Linked DNA regions of Homo sapiens: region 2 is linked to region 1. Evidence: promoter capture Hi-C in 16 types of primary human blood cells and fetal thymus (Javierre and others, 2016). All regions are on one chromosome and are shown on one strand. The core of a region is centred on a gene start or on the middle of the fragment in contact, and the rest is flanking DNA. Distances in the headings are between cores, read along the strand shown. Region 1 holds the start of NCAPG2 (non-SMC condensin II complex subunit G2). Region 2 holds the start of FMC1 (formation of mitochondrial complex V assembly factor 1).

Evidence for each region. Contacts are between HindIII fragments. The CHiCAGO score rates a contact against its expected background, and 5 or more counts as called.
Region 2: the fragment with the promoter of FMC1 here is called in contact with the fragment with the promoter of NCAPG2 in region 1 in 1 of 17 cell types (neutrophils); the score reaches 5.6 in neutrophils.

Annotation. Positions count from the first base shown.
Region 1 is chr7:158,701,113-158,708,188 of GRCh38, reverse strand. NCAPG2 (non-SMC condensin II complex subunit G2) reads left to right here and starts at 3,385. Exons shown (of 28, transcript NM_017760.7): 1 at 3,385-3,465; 2 at 6,251-6,367. The coding sequence starts at 6,290. RefSeq lists silencers at 2,729-3,008, 3,129-3,218, 3,369-3,468 and an enhancer at 4,046-4,624. The HindIII fragment of the contact is 5,779 bases long and covers 2,181-7,076 here.
Region 2 is chr7:139,338,195-139,345,270 of GRCh38, reverse strand. FMC1 (formation of mitochondrial complex V assembly factor 1) reads right to left here and starts at 3,934. Exons shown (of 2, transcript NM_197964.5): 1 at 3,749-3,934. The coding sequence starts at 3,886. FMC1-LUC7L2 (FMC1-LUC7L2 readthrough) reads right to left here and starts at 3,934. Exons shown (of 11, transcript NM_001244584.3): 1 at 3,749-3,934. The coding sequence starts at 3,886. TRR-CCT4-1 (tRNA-Arg (anticodon CCT) 4-1) reads right to left here and starts at 4,571; the gene lies at 4,499-4,571. It also overlaps a transcript of LUC7L2 not described here. RefSeq lists enhancers at 3,694-3,943, 3,391-3,958, 4,214-4,283, 4,314-4,383, 4,694-4,753. The HindIII fragment of the contact is 22,532 bases long and covers 1-7,076 here.

The DNA of each region.
Region 1 (7,076 bases), core at 2,136-4,635:
TATGGGGTTCAGGAAATAAACCCCTATAGAAGGTAAAGCTTGAGCTGAGTTCTGGAGGAGTGTCATCTATTTGCGGGGAAGGTCACATTCCCAGTGAACGGTGATGGCAGCGGGAGGCAGACAGGTTCCTGGGTGGGAAGGGGCAGGTCCCTGGTGAAACCCCACTTTCAAGCCAGGGACAGCCTGAAGTTCCTGGGCCAGGATGCCAGTTCCTGGTGAAGTCCGAGATCCAGAAAGAGAACTTACTTGATGCCTTTCAGCCAATCAAGTAGTGCTTTTTCCAGGCCTGCCCATGGGCCAATCAGCACACACTTCCTCCTGTCTATGGACCAATCAACATGTACTTCCTCCATTCTGAGCCCATACGTGCCTGTGGATAGGAGCTACCCACTTCGAGTCTCCTCTCCACTGAGAGCTATTTGGTCAGCTGTTCTCTGCCTTGCTCACCCTCCAGATGTCTGCCAAACCTCATTCTTCCTGGACATGGGACAAGAACTTGGAACCTGCTGAATGGTGAGAGCAAAACGAGCTGTAATACTTTCCTGGCCAGCTTGCCAAGTTGCAGGTGGGAGCCAAAGTGGCTGTAACGGGTTCCTGGCCGGGTCGCTGAGCTGCGGGTGGTGACACGCTCCCAGACTGAGGGAGTGAAGAGTGGTGACCCTTGTAGAGGCCCAGGCCTTGGGATTCCCCAAGCCAGAGCTATAATGCTATAGCCCTCCCACCCTCTGCTGGCGCCCAGTGGCCACCCCATGCAGTGGGAAGCAGCGGTGGGGCCGGGACAGCCAAGGAGCCGTGGACCGGTGTGGGGCGGCAGGACCAAAAGACCTGTAACACAAATGAGGTGAAACATGCCGCCCCGGAAACACGACCCCCTGCTAGCCACGCTGTGGGTGATGAGAAGGACAGAAGAGCTGTGGCCCTTCTGGGAGCCCAGACCTCGGGGCTCCCCGAGCCAGGGCTGTGACACAGTGTAACCCCCCTTTGGGGCTCTGTGGCTCCTGGCATCTGTGAGCTTTCGGGTGCCACCATGTTCCCCTTGTCCAGATGCTGATGCCTGCAGTGGAAGCCACTTGTGGTACCTCTGGTCCAGCCACAGCCTTGCATGGAGCCGGCAGCTGTGCAGGCACCTAGAGCTGCCTGCTCCACCACAGCAGCTGCATGGCTGGGTGTGCGCAGTGGTTGGACCCCATGCTCGCTTGCTCACATACCCCTTGCCGCTCTGCACCTGGCTCACCCTTGGCAGGCGTGGGATCTGGGTTGGTAGTGCAAGCCGAGTGCAACCTGCTGGGCTGAGTGGGCTCGAGCAAAACTCTAGCAGAGGCACCGCTGGCCACGGAGGTTTCTAGCTGGTGAAGCGATACCCAAAGGATCCTATGACATTAGTGGCTGCATGGGCAGGTGCATTGGGGGTGCACTGGGCGCTCCTGCTGCCCTGCTTCCACGTGCCTCTGAGCACTGCACTACATAGACATTTAGGCCTCATAACAACCCCCTAGAGGAGGCTGAGCTCTGCATTATACAGACATTTAGGCCTCATAACAACCCCCTAGAGGAGGCTCAGTACTTAAGTAGGTCCCATTTGATAGATGAGGAAACTGAGGCTCAGTCGTCCATGGCTTGTCAAAGGTCACCAGCTAGTGAGCACAGAACCAGGTTAGCCCAGGTGGTACAGCTTCAGAGCTCACATGCGTAACTTGTTACATTATTCCTACTCAGGAAGTGGAAACCCCAGGAACAGATGGCTGATTGGAGGAGGGACCAGCATAAGGAAAGGGGCAGGATTCAGGGGTGGGAGGGGAAGTCGATATCTGTTTTGGATGCATGTCAGCACCAGCGTGGGAGTAGGCAGTGAGCTGTTGAAAATTCTGGAGTTCAGAAATAACCGTGTCTTGCAAATCCAGATGCAGAGGTCACTGCTTGAAGGTGGCAGTTTGCACCTTGGATATGAAGGAAATTGCTAAGAAGAAAGCAGTGAGAAGATGAGGGCACCAAAATTCAAGAAATGGCAGGGAAGGATCTGTGTATGGAGGGAGGAGGAGGTCAGAGGTGGCTGGAGCCCCAGGATGAAATAGGCAATGTTAGATATCGGCCACCTGTTGACAAGGGTCCCAGACTCAGCATCCTCTGAGTGGGTCTTCTCCCTCCCCTCTGCAGCCTGCCTTGCTTCACTGTTGCAAGCTTCCTAGTAAACCAGTCTTCTCCCTGCTATAATTTTATATTGCTTGTTGAAACGATATTCCAACAAGTAACATAAATATTTTTGATATACTAGGCTAAATAAAACATATTTAAAAATTAATGTCACCTATTTATCTTCATTTTTCTAATGTGGTCACTAGAAATTTACAAGTGCACTTGTGGCTCCCATGATGTTCCTATTGGTTGGTGCTGTGCTCCCACAGTGCAACGACTTCAATCTCGCCAAGACCTCTGGCTTGAGTTAAGCCAGGAAAACAGATACCACTCTAGACATCTCAAGCATGAAAGAATATAGCTCCAGGGAAGGCCAAGTCCTCACGAAGGGATGCAGAGCTCGGTGGTAAAGAGCACCGTTTTCTAAGAATTTGCTTTCAACAAAAATTGGGAACGCCCAATCAAGTTATTCGCTGACACAAATTAAAAGAGATTGATACATCAGTATGTGATTTTGGCATTTAAGTCCAAAGAATTGAATGACATTGCTACTCCTCCTTCACACGGGTGCCTCCGAGGGTCCCCGCTAAGGCCTCTCCCTCTCCACCCTATGGGCAGCTGACCTGCCGGGGGCCTCACCTGCTGGAGGAGCAACTGCAGGAGAAGCACCTGTTAGGGGCCGCACCTGGCCGGAGGGGCTCCTGCGGGGGAAGCACCTGCCCAGGGTGCACCTACCGTGTGCAGGCTGCGGACCACCCGGACAGGTGCCCCCTCGGCAGGGAGGGCGGTCACGGGGGCCGGCCAGGTCGGGGTGGGGTCCTCCCGGGGATCCAGACACGGCCCTGTGGCCTCTCCCCGCCCCAAGCCTTTCCTTTCTCTCCCCCTCTCTCTCTTCCTCTCCTTCCTCCTTCCCACAACACCGCCCGCTCGCAGCGCCCCGCCCTCTCCTGGACCGCGCACTCCCTCCGCGGAGGCCCCAGGACGCGCACGAGCGCGCAGTGGACGTCGGCGCGCGGACCGGGCATGGGTTCCCCAGCTGTGGCGCCCCGCGTGCGCGTTCCGTAGTGCCCGGTAGGGCACTGGGCTTAGCTGCTCGAGGCCGCGCCCTAAGAGGCGGGGCATAGACAGGAAGAAGACTGGCGGGCATGTGGGCGGGGCATGATCTGGAGGCGGGGCGGGCCGGGCGTGTGGGCGAGGCCCGAGGCTCGCGGCGCCCCAGCTCTCGCGAGAGCGGCGCCTGATGACGACCGGGAGGGCGGGGCCCGTCTGGGGCGCCGGCGGGTGCGTTTGAATCTGGTCCGAGCGCGGGAAACGGCGGGTCCCCGAGCCCAGGTAAGAGCTGCGGTGCCGAGCCGGGATTGGGTTCAGAGCAGGGGCTGGGAAGTAGCAGGGATCGGGCGGGAAGCCCCTCCTCGGCTGGTCGGGGTCCCAGCCTCCCCTCCCCTAAGGAGGCGGCCGACCTGCGTGCGGGCAGTGCTGCCTCTGACGGAACTGGACGGAACTGGCGACCCCGGGCCATCCCCCCTACCCAGCTCAGCGACGCCCGTCCTTCTTGTCCGTGTCGGAGGAAAATCCCAGCCCCGGGCGCGGGCACTGCCCTCAGAGAGCGACCCCCCAGCCCTGAGCATGGGCACCGTCCTCAGAGAGTGTCCCCTCAGTCCTGGGCATGGGCACTGCCCTCAGAGAGCGACCTCCTCTGTCCTGGGCATGGGAACTGCCCTCAGAGAGTGTCCCCTCAGTCCTGGGCATGGGCACTACCCTCAGAGAGCGACCCCCTCAGTCCTGAGCATGGGCACTGCCCTCAGAGAGCGTCCCCTCAGTCCTGGGCATGGGCACTACCCTCAGAGAGCGACCCCCTCAGTCCTGAGCATGGGCACTGCCCTCAGAGAGCGACCCCCTCAGTCCTGGGCATGGGCACTGCCCTCAGAGAGCGTCCCCTCAGTCCTGGGCATGGGCACTACCCTCAGAGAGCGACCCCCTCAGTCCTGAGCATGGGCACTGCCCTCAGAGAGCGTCCCCTCAGTCCTGGGCATGGGCACTGCCCTCAGAGAGCGACCCCCTCTGTCCTGGGCATGGGAACTGCCCTCAGAGAGAGTCCCCTCAGTCCTGGGTGTCGGTACTGCCCTTAGAGAGAGTCCCCCTGAGCCCTGGGTGTAGGCACTGCCCTCAGAGAGTATCTCCCCAGCTGTGGACGTGGGCATTGTCCTCAGAGACATCAGTCTCCTGAACTCTTGTTGCTGGTTTGGTGCCTCTTGTTGTGTCCATGAGGAAGGAGTTTGGGGACGGAGTGGGAAGTCACAGGTGGTGAGAAGGTAACAGGGATTTCTTCTTTTTAATGCTCATCTTGATTTAGTACCAGACCTCCTGTGCGAAGAGTAACCTGCTCTTCGGACTGATAACTGGATGGTGAGATGACTCCTTACCTTGAAAGTAGCATTCTGGCTGCAGGGCTGAGGTCTTATGCACATATGGTACAAGAAACATGGAATATTGCCACTTTGGGAGATAGATTGAAAAATTAACCATTAAAAAATTACAGTCACTAATATAAGAGGGAAAATGGGAAATATAGGAATAAGTTTGGTAGTCTAGAGGAAGTGTATTACTGTAAGTTGGACTAACATGCCAAAGAGGTACACTTGGAAATAGAGCAAACAAGAAAAGTGACCAGAACTATGAAAAAGTGGAGAGTGTTCACAGACTTGCCGGGCGAAGATGTATGATTCCATGTGTTTGCTGCACCTTATTGGATTATTTTTCTAAAATCATGAATTTGTCCTAGCCACTATTCATTATGCTTGTTACTGGCCACTCTCCCTTCCCTCCCCATTTTCTTTGTCAGTGAAAAATGTGCCAGTCATGCTTGATTTAAAGAGGGAGACACGTTGTCGTTAGGCAATTTCATCATTGCATGAACATCACAGAGTGGACTTGCCTACACCTAGAGGTGTAGCCTACACACATAGGCTGTATGGTGTAGCCTACTGCTCCTAGAATGTTACTGTACTGAATACTGTAGGCAACTGTAATACAATGGCAAGTATTTGCATCGCTAAACATATCTAAGCATAGAAAAAGCACAGTAAAAATATGGCATTATAATCTTATGGGACCACGGTCATACATGTGGTCTGTTGTTGACTGAAATGTTATGTGGTCCATGACCGTAGTTCATAGTTCAGCCATTTGAGTTGAGGAATGAGATGACCAGACTTCACTGTTAACTTATTTCGGGAGTCATTAAACTGAGGTTATTTTTGCTTTGTTCAATTTGGACATTAAAATCTAGTATTATATGTTTAAGATGACTCTCTGTCCCCATAATTATTGGCAATAATTTTCCATATTGCTCTATTTATAATGGTGCAGGTGGTTTTCATTTATTTTTAAAGTGAGGGGGCTCCTACTGCAAATGTGTTCCATCATTTGCTATTACCTCATCTTTAGGTTGATGTTTTTTCAGTAGGGCACCAGTAGCACCAGGTATTGTGAATGCGAAATAGAATTTCCTGGAAAAACACAGGCAGGATGGAGGGTATACAAAGTCCCCTGAGCTCTCATTATCCCGAAGGGGTGGGAGGAGGGTGCTGTGGTTGAGCATGCCTAATGCATAGTCTAACAAGATCCCAGGTGACCCCCGGGGCCACTGTTTTCCATCTCACTTTGAATAACAAGATGACACTAACAGTGGGATTTTTTTGATGGAGGAATGGCCTTTAGAAAGGGAGCATCTTCAGAATCTGCAGCTGGGATCAGATTGTTCTTTTGTTGAATCAACTCAGCTCTGCCGAGCCAGCATCTTGCTAAGGTACTAAAAAGGGAGAGATGGTGGTGAGCTTCCTAAGGCTATTTGGATTTCTCCCTCCTTAGTTGGTAATTTTATTAACAATTGTTGATAAAATATCATTAATATCATGTTATTCACATCCCCAGTAAAGGAAATAAGTAAATTGTTTTTCAGATATTATAGCGTGTTTTATGTCAGAATGTTTTTAGAAACTGTCTGCCATACGTGGTTGAGGAATTTTCTTGCAGTTCTTGGATGTTAATATCAAATTAAATCTTACAGGAAAAGATATATTTGCAAGTGTTTCAGTATGATTGTGTTTTCCATTAGGGTTACAAAATAAATGCCATTTGAACAGTGCCATCTGTCATGGAAAAACGTGAGACGTTTGTACAAGCCGTGTCTAAGGAGCTGGTTGGAGAGTTTTTGCAATTTGTTCAACTTGATGTAAGTTTCATGTTTTAGTTTTGTTGTGATTTTTGACTGTGAATATGAAATATGTTCTAAAGTCATTATGTCCCCAAAAGAAACATAGTTATCTCAGTGAATCCTTAGCGACCAATGTTTATTTGAAAGAAGAAAACAAAACCCTTTATACTCAAATCTACCTGCTGGTGGGCTACGCTAAGATGTAAAAGATAAACAGAAGTTAACCAGTCAAAGAGGGATGTTGGGGGAAAGGACCCATCTAACAAAGAAGGTCACTCTGAAGACTAGAGAAGGTTTGTTGTGTTTGAACTTGAAGTTCAGCAGGAAGGCAGAAGATGAGGCTGGGGGCTAGGCTACACGAGTCTTTACCATTTTAAGGAATTCAGACTTTATCTTGAGAACGGTGGGTGCTTGAAGCAGGGAGCGAGCTGTAGGCAAGGGAGGAAGAGAACAAAAGAGAAGGAGAGAGAACTAGTGGACAAAATAGAGGTAAGGAGAAAAATATGGTTTGCCTTTTGGAAATATTCCTCTGACTACAAGTGAGAAATATGTCAAAGGGACATATTTAAGGCTAACCTCTTAGGTTGTGCTCTTCAAAATGATGGTTGAATTAGGAACTGGAAATGGGAAGCTGCTTGGTAGTGAAGTGATGGCACTATTGGACTGATTGGATATGGATATGGTGGGGAAGGGCCCAGGCGTCTGACTGTGTAGTACCATTCAGCAA
Region 2 (7,076 bases), core at 2,685-5,184, about 19 Mb after region 1:
TTCAGTCAGTACTGCAAGAAGTCATCTAGTTTCAATTCCTTAATTTTACAGATGAGGAAACTAAAGTCCAGAGATGCTCAGAGGTTGGTTAATGGTAGATATGGAAATTATAATTAGGTCACTCATCATTAATGTCACCTAAAGAATATTATGTAGAACTTTCTCCCTTTCAAGCAAATAAAGGACTGCTTTATTTATATTTCTGTGACTTTGATTAATGTGGCATATACCTTTCATTACAATGAAAATTGAAAACTTGGCCGGGCGCGGTGGCTCACACCTGTAATCCCAGCACTTTGGGAGGCCGAGGCGGGCAGATCACAAGGTCAGGGGATCGAGACCATCCTGGCTAACACGGTGAAACCCTGTCTCTGCTAAAAATCCAAAAAAAAAAAAAAAAATTAGCCGGGTGTGGTGGCGGGTGCCTGTAGTACCAACTACTCAGGAGGCTGAGGCGGGAGAATGGCGTGAACCCAGGAGGCGGAGCTTGCAGTGAGCCAAGATCGGGCCACTGCACTCCAGTCTGGGTAACAGAAGGAGACTCCATCTCAACAAAAAAAAAAAAAAAAAAAAAAGAAAGAAAATTGAAAACTTTTGTCTGAAAAATGATAGCTTTGTGCTAAATAGTAACAAATGAAGGTTTCATGTATAAAACTAGTATGCTTATGTTCATATTACTTATTACAATTGGCCCTCCATATCCATGGGTTCTGCATCTTTGGATTCAATCAACTTGTGATAAAAAATACTCAGAAAAAAATAAAAGGATTATCATGTCTTACCAAACATATGTTTTGTCATTATTCCCTAAACAATGTAGTATAACAACGATTTACATAGCATTTACACCGCATAAGGTATTATAATCTAGAGATGACAAAGTATACAGGAGGATGTGCATAGGTTATATTGCAAATACTACAGCATTTTATGTCAGGGACTTGAGCATCCATGGATTTTGGTATTCCTGAGTGGGGGTGGGGGGTGTCCTGGAACCAGTCCCCACAGTTACTGAGGAATGGCTATTCTCGCTCTTACAATTTGCTTATCCATCTTGAAAACTCTGGACTCATGACTTTAAGAAGCTAGAAATTCCATATCCATTCCAAAGTCCCCAAATGATTCCAAACCTTTTTTCTTCATCATACTTAACTTTTGAGATTCACTGCACCCTCTTTAACTAGTTCTGTATTCAAGGCTGTGAGAAAGGGGCAGGAAAGGTGAGATGGGGATGTGTGCATAGCTCTGAGGGACTAAAGGAGCCATGTCCAAATGTGGATAAATCTGGGCACCACTGCCTACATAATACGCCCCCCACCAACTCTTTTTTTTTTTTTTTTTTTTGGGGACAGGGTCTCACTTTGTTGCCCAGGCTGGAGTGCAATAGCGTGAACATGGCTGCTGATCTCCCCAGCTCAAGTGATCCTCCTGCCTCAGCCCCGCAAGTAGCTGGGACTACAGACGCACACCACCATATCCGGCTAATTTTTGTATTTTTTATACAAACAGGGTTTCACCATGTTGCCCAGGCTGGTCGTGAACTCCTGGGCACAAGCGATCCACCTGCCGCCTCCTCCCAGAGTGCTGGGATTACAGGTGTGAGCCACCGCTCCTGGCCTAATCCCCTTTCTCTATTTGAATATCTAGTGTTAGAATCTGAAAACTAGAATGTGTGTGGCTTCTTGGTTTTTGAGACAGGGTCTCGCTCCGTGGCCTATGCTGGAGAGCAGTGGTATGAACATGGCTCACTGCAGCCTTGATCGACTTCTTGGGCTCAAGTGATCCTCTCACCTCAGCTTCCCAATTAGCTGGAACTAGAGGATGGGCCATCACGCCTGGATAATTTTCAAATTTTTTGGAGAGGAAGTCTCACTACACTATGTTGCCCATGCTGTTAGAATGTGGGTTTTAGGATCTGCAGATCATGTTGAAAGCAACATTCATTAGCTGCTTAAAAACAGAATTAATCTGCTTTAATACAAATTTAACTTTTTAGTAATTTAAATTTTATGAGAAATCAACACCAATGTCAAGCATTAACAAATCATAGCATCCACTTCTATTAATATATAAGCCCAAATTTGTGGAATTTGACATGGGAATTCTAGGTTAATGTAGGATAGAATACTGCTCTTGATTCGGTTGAGCCTGAATCATGAGGACAAAAGGGTCAGCAATAGACAGGAAACAGTAAATAGATCACAAGAACCCAAAAGAGATCAAATGAAATAGAACACTGTATTTTCCCTGTGGAGAAAGGGTAGGTTTCTCCCTAATAGAATCCCTTCTCCGGAGGGAAAGGATAGAGAAAATGGGATGGTTATTCAGTTAGCTGTGAGCCTGAAGGAAACAGAAACCATTTCCCCTATGCTCAAGTGCATTCCAGAGTGGTATTTCCAGAATGTACCATGAATTTCAGAACCATTACCAAGTCTCTCTCAAGGGTAATAATGTTATCCCCATAAGGTACAACTATAATCATGTCACCTCCTTAAAAATCTTAGAATGGGGCCAGGTTTGATAGTTCACGCCTGTAATTACAACACTTTGGGAGGCCGAGGCAGGCGGATCACCTGAGGTCAGGAGTTCAAGACCAGCCTGACCAACATGGAGAAACCCCGTCTCCACTAAAAATACAAAATTAGCCGGGCGTGGTGTCGCATGTCGCCTGCCTGTACTACTCGGGAGGCTGAGGCAGGAGAATCGCTTGAACCTGGGAGGTGATCACAATCTTAGAATGGCTTCCCATTACACTTACAATAAAGTTTAAGTTCCTGTTCGGCCTACCACTTCATCTACCTCCACTTCACCCACCACACCTTAGGGCTAAACCACTCTCAACTGGCAATTTTTCTCCCCTTGGGCTTTCAATTGTGTAGCTTTTAAACCTGGACCCTAACCCCAATTTACTTGCTAACTCCAAATTAGCCTTCAGGTCCCTGATTAATTTCCTCCGGAAAACCTTCCCTAACTACCCCTTCTTTATACCCCAGCCCCTGTTGTCTACACCTTGAGCACTTATTTATCCTCAGTACTTTACTGTATGGCTCCTTAGGTGGGCAGCAAGTGTCTTAAGGACAGGACACATGTGCATCTGATTCTTCCTGTTTAGACCAGGTTCCTAGCACAGACCCTAACGTTGCCACCTTTTAAAAACTAGGTGAATTTGAGTTCTAAGATTTTACATTCTGACGTCCGTGGCTCAGAAATTCGACAGTTGATCGTTCTCCCTTTCCCCACATTGCTCAAGGGCAGCAAGTTTCCTTCCCTAAAGCCCAGTTGTTCTTTTCCGCCTCAAAAAGAAATGCTTCTTAGAATAACTTTTCTAGGGGACGGGTGAGGAAATTGTTGGCCAGATGCTGTGGCTTTAAGTCTAGCAACAGTACACCCTTCAACTCCATCTTCATTGTTTTATCCCCAGCATTGAATCCTCCATTCCACTTTCCTGACTGCCCTCCGCAGAGGCAACAGACCAGCCAATGAAATCCTTCGGGACGGGTCCGCCCCTCTGCAGGACAGGCTGACGTCCCCAGAGCGACTCTGCGCCCCCCCCCGCTGGTCCTTTGGTCCCCGAGTTTATGCCAGAGCATGGAGCCTAGGGCCTGGGTTGGTTTGGTCAGAACCAGGGCTCCGTGGGAGGGTTGGCCTCAGAAATGCAGGAATTAAACACCGTGCTCCCCACCCTAGCCCAGACCCGGCTCTTCCTCCCTCCCCAGCACGTAGAGCACCCGGGACATGGCTCCCGTACCCGATGTGCACGGAAAGCCTTCACAAGGTACCGATAGGCCGCGGTGTCGCGATAGGGTCGGCCGGTGGCCGCGCTCAGGTAGCGCAACTCCCGCAGAAGTCCTCGAAAAGTGTGCGACGGGGACCCTAAGGCCGCCATTGTCCTGTCCTTCTCCGAGCGTGGTGCCCAACGGCGTCCTACGACCCTGAAAACCCCTCCTCCGGCCCAGGCGCCTAATGGTACGGTCGGACAGACTACCGACTCCCCCTATCGACTGACGAGCAGTGGAACCGCTCACTTGTCCGTTGACCGAACCTTATTAATCGAAGGCCCAGGGGCGCCGTAACAAAATCAAACGAAACCCGACTGTTAACTGAAGGTACCAGGACCTCTAACCCAGAACAAGGGTTTGGGGAAACAGGGGCTTTTCTTCACTGCGTCATTGAAGATGCCCGTTAGCCGACCAACCGCTGAGTCTCAGGAGAAGCGGGCCCGGCGGGGGGTGTGGGTGTGGATTTGATATGGAACACGCTGAGAAGACATTTTTAAATGATTTATAAAAGGGATATCAAAATTCAACGTATTGACGTCTCCCCAAATCCCAGGGGACCTGCGGCTCAGACAAAGGACATGGGTGTGTGCAGATTCTCGAAAATTGCAGCCCACCAGCTAGTAAAAACACACACACACTTCCCATTTAAAAAAAAAAAAAGTAAAGTTGGCATATTTCGCTTTGTTTAGAAAGGGGAAAAAAGGACAAAAGTCACAGGCCACCCCAGATGGGACTCGAACCCACAATCCCTGGCTTAGGAGGCCAATGCCTTATCCATTAGGCCACTGGGGCTTCTGCAAACGACGCGCTCACACAACATATTCAACTATTTTCCTCTTTGGTACGTCATCGTCACTTCATTTTCGCCTTACCCTATCCCACGAAACCACACCTAGCGCCCACGTGAGGGGTGACGTATGCTGGGAGTTGTAGTTAGAGAACAAAAGTCCACATCACCGCGCCAAAGGCTTTACCCTCGAAACTGCACCGATGCTCCGGACGTTGAACGGGCGCGCGCACGCTTCTGCGTACGCGCTTGCCTGCGCAATAGTCTCCGCGCCTGCGCCGTAGTCCCCGCGCCTGCGCAAAAGCGGGCATGCGCCGTCGCGGAGCACAGCGCGCTGGGCAAATTGGCCGGATCTTCGAGACTCGCCCTCTGAACGTCAGCTCTGGTGGGTTTTTACCGGAAGCAGCCGGACCTTTTCCGGTGTTGCGAATTTCCAGGAGGAGCTTTGCTCCAGCGGCCGTTAGATGGCGCCTGCCGCGGTCAATTTCTGCTTCCGGTTGAAGCGTTGAGGCCATTTCCGCAGGCCGGGCGTGGTGGCGCACGCCTGTAATACCAGTACTTTGGGAGGCCGAGGCGGGCGGATCATCTTAGGTCGGGGGTTTGAAACCAGCCTGACCAACACAGAGAAACCCTGTCTCTACTAAAAATACAGAATTAGCCGGGCGTGGTGGCGCATGCCTGTAATCCCAGCTACTCCGGAGGCTGAGGCAGGAGAATTGCTTGAACCCTGGAGTCGGAGGTTGTAGTGAGCCGAGATCGCGCCATTGCTCTCTAGCCTGGGCAACAGGAGCGAAACTCCATCTCAAAAAAAAAAAGAAACATGTGCCGTGTCCTTTGAATTGGTGCGTCAGCGATAAACATGGGACAGCGGGGAAGTAATAGTACATTGATTAGGAATTAATTTTAAAAATTAGCAGTTCATTTTTTGGTTCTGTTCCTAATTGTATAACGAACAAATCACTTCGGAGTCCCAGTAAACTTACCCTTATAGTATCACAGGGGCTTCCCATTGTCCCTAAGATAAAGCTCAGACGACATAAATTGATCCTCGCTTGTACCTTAATCTTCATCTCTCACTTTTCGCTTATCACCCTCTGCTCCAGGTATCTCCACTTTCATTGTCTCTTCCCCACCACACACCTTACCTGATATTCCCTCTGCCTGAAACTTAACCATTTGTATTAATATGCCTCTTTACCCTTTGGGCTTCAGCTTACTCCAGAAGTCTAGGTTAGACGCTTCTCCAGGCCCTTGAAGTCAATACGGCAAGGTGAAAATTATTCATTTCACCTCCTCTGGTCCCCTGTTGCTCCCTTTATTTACTCATCGTAAATAACTCTTAATGTAGGTACATGGCCACTACTCCATACTGTAGTTGTCAGTCTCTTCCATCAGACTGGGAAATTGTTCAGCTCCGAAAGCCCTGTGCCTAACAGAAAAGCCTGTTTCTTCACCAGGCTTATTCCTTGGTAGCATAGTCATAACAGCTTAGTCTGAAGCTCCTAAAGGGATTGGCACTGTCTGGCCCCAGTGGCTAGGAGACATAAGCTACTGAGCAGGAATGACAAACAAATGGAACATCAATTGTTCATTAATGAGTAAAGCTGGCTTGGTTGGAAACCTGGTGAACTGGACAGCAACTAGCCCACCTGTCCAGGGGGCAGCCATTACTCACCTCCACTGATTGTTGCCATTTTAGGAAAGCAAATCCTTTAAAAACCTTTTTTTTTTTCAGGAAACTCTGGAAATCTGTTTTAATGCTATAGATTTCCTTCTAAATATTGGCCACTAATGAATACTTTAAAAGTACTGCATGCCAAACAGCCCACAGACTTCTAGTCTGTAAAGAAAGAAGAAAAAAAGGGCGATAGGATTTGAAGTTAAGAAAAGGTAAAAAACATGTGGCGTGCCTAGTTCGTGGGAAAAAAAGCTGGTTTGATGATCCTGCCTTTTTATTTTTTCTTTTTAGAAAAATTTTTACAACTATATTGTCTTTTTAAGTTTTTAAATGATTTTTTTCTTTCCTATCATCTCCTTAGCCTGATACCCTGCCTTATCTTTAGGAAAAAAATGCTCCTGATAATAAATACAAAATATAATAAACTCATTTGTATTAACATGTGAGATTCTGTTCAAAACCCAGCCTCATTATAGGTCACTCTTCAGCACCCTCAGCTGATTACCACACTGGCTAAATTAAGGAACTTACACATCTTAAACAGCCTTCTCAAGATTACCATTTTAAATGTTCCCCACTCTTGGCCGGGTGCTGTGGCTCACGCCTGTAATCCCAGCACTTTGGGAGGCTCAAGGGGGGGCGGATCACTTGAGGCCAGGAGTTCAAGACCAGCCTGGCCAACGTGGCAAAAACACATTCTCCACTAAAAATACAAAAATTAGCTGGGTGTGGCGGTGCGTGCTTGTAGTCCCAGCTACTCTGGAAGCTGAGGCAGGAGAATTGCTTGAACCCAGGAGGCAGAGGTTGCACTCCAGCCTAGGTGACACAGCGA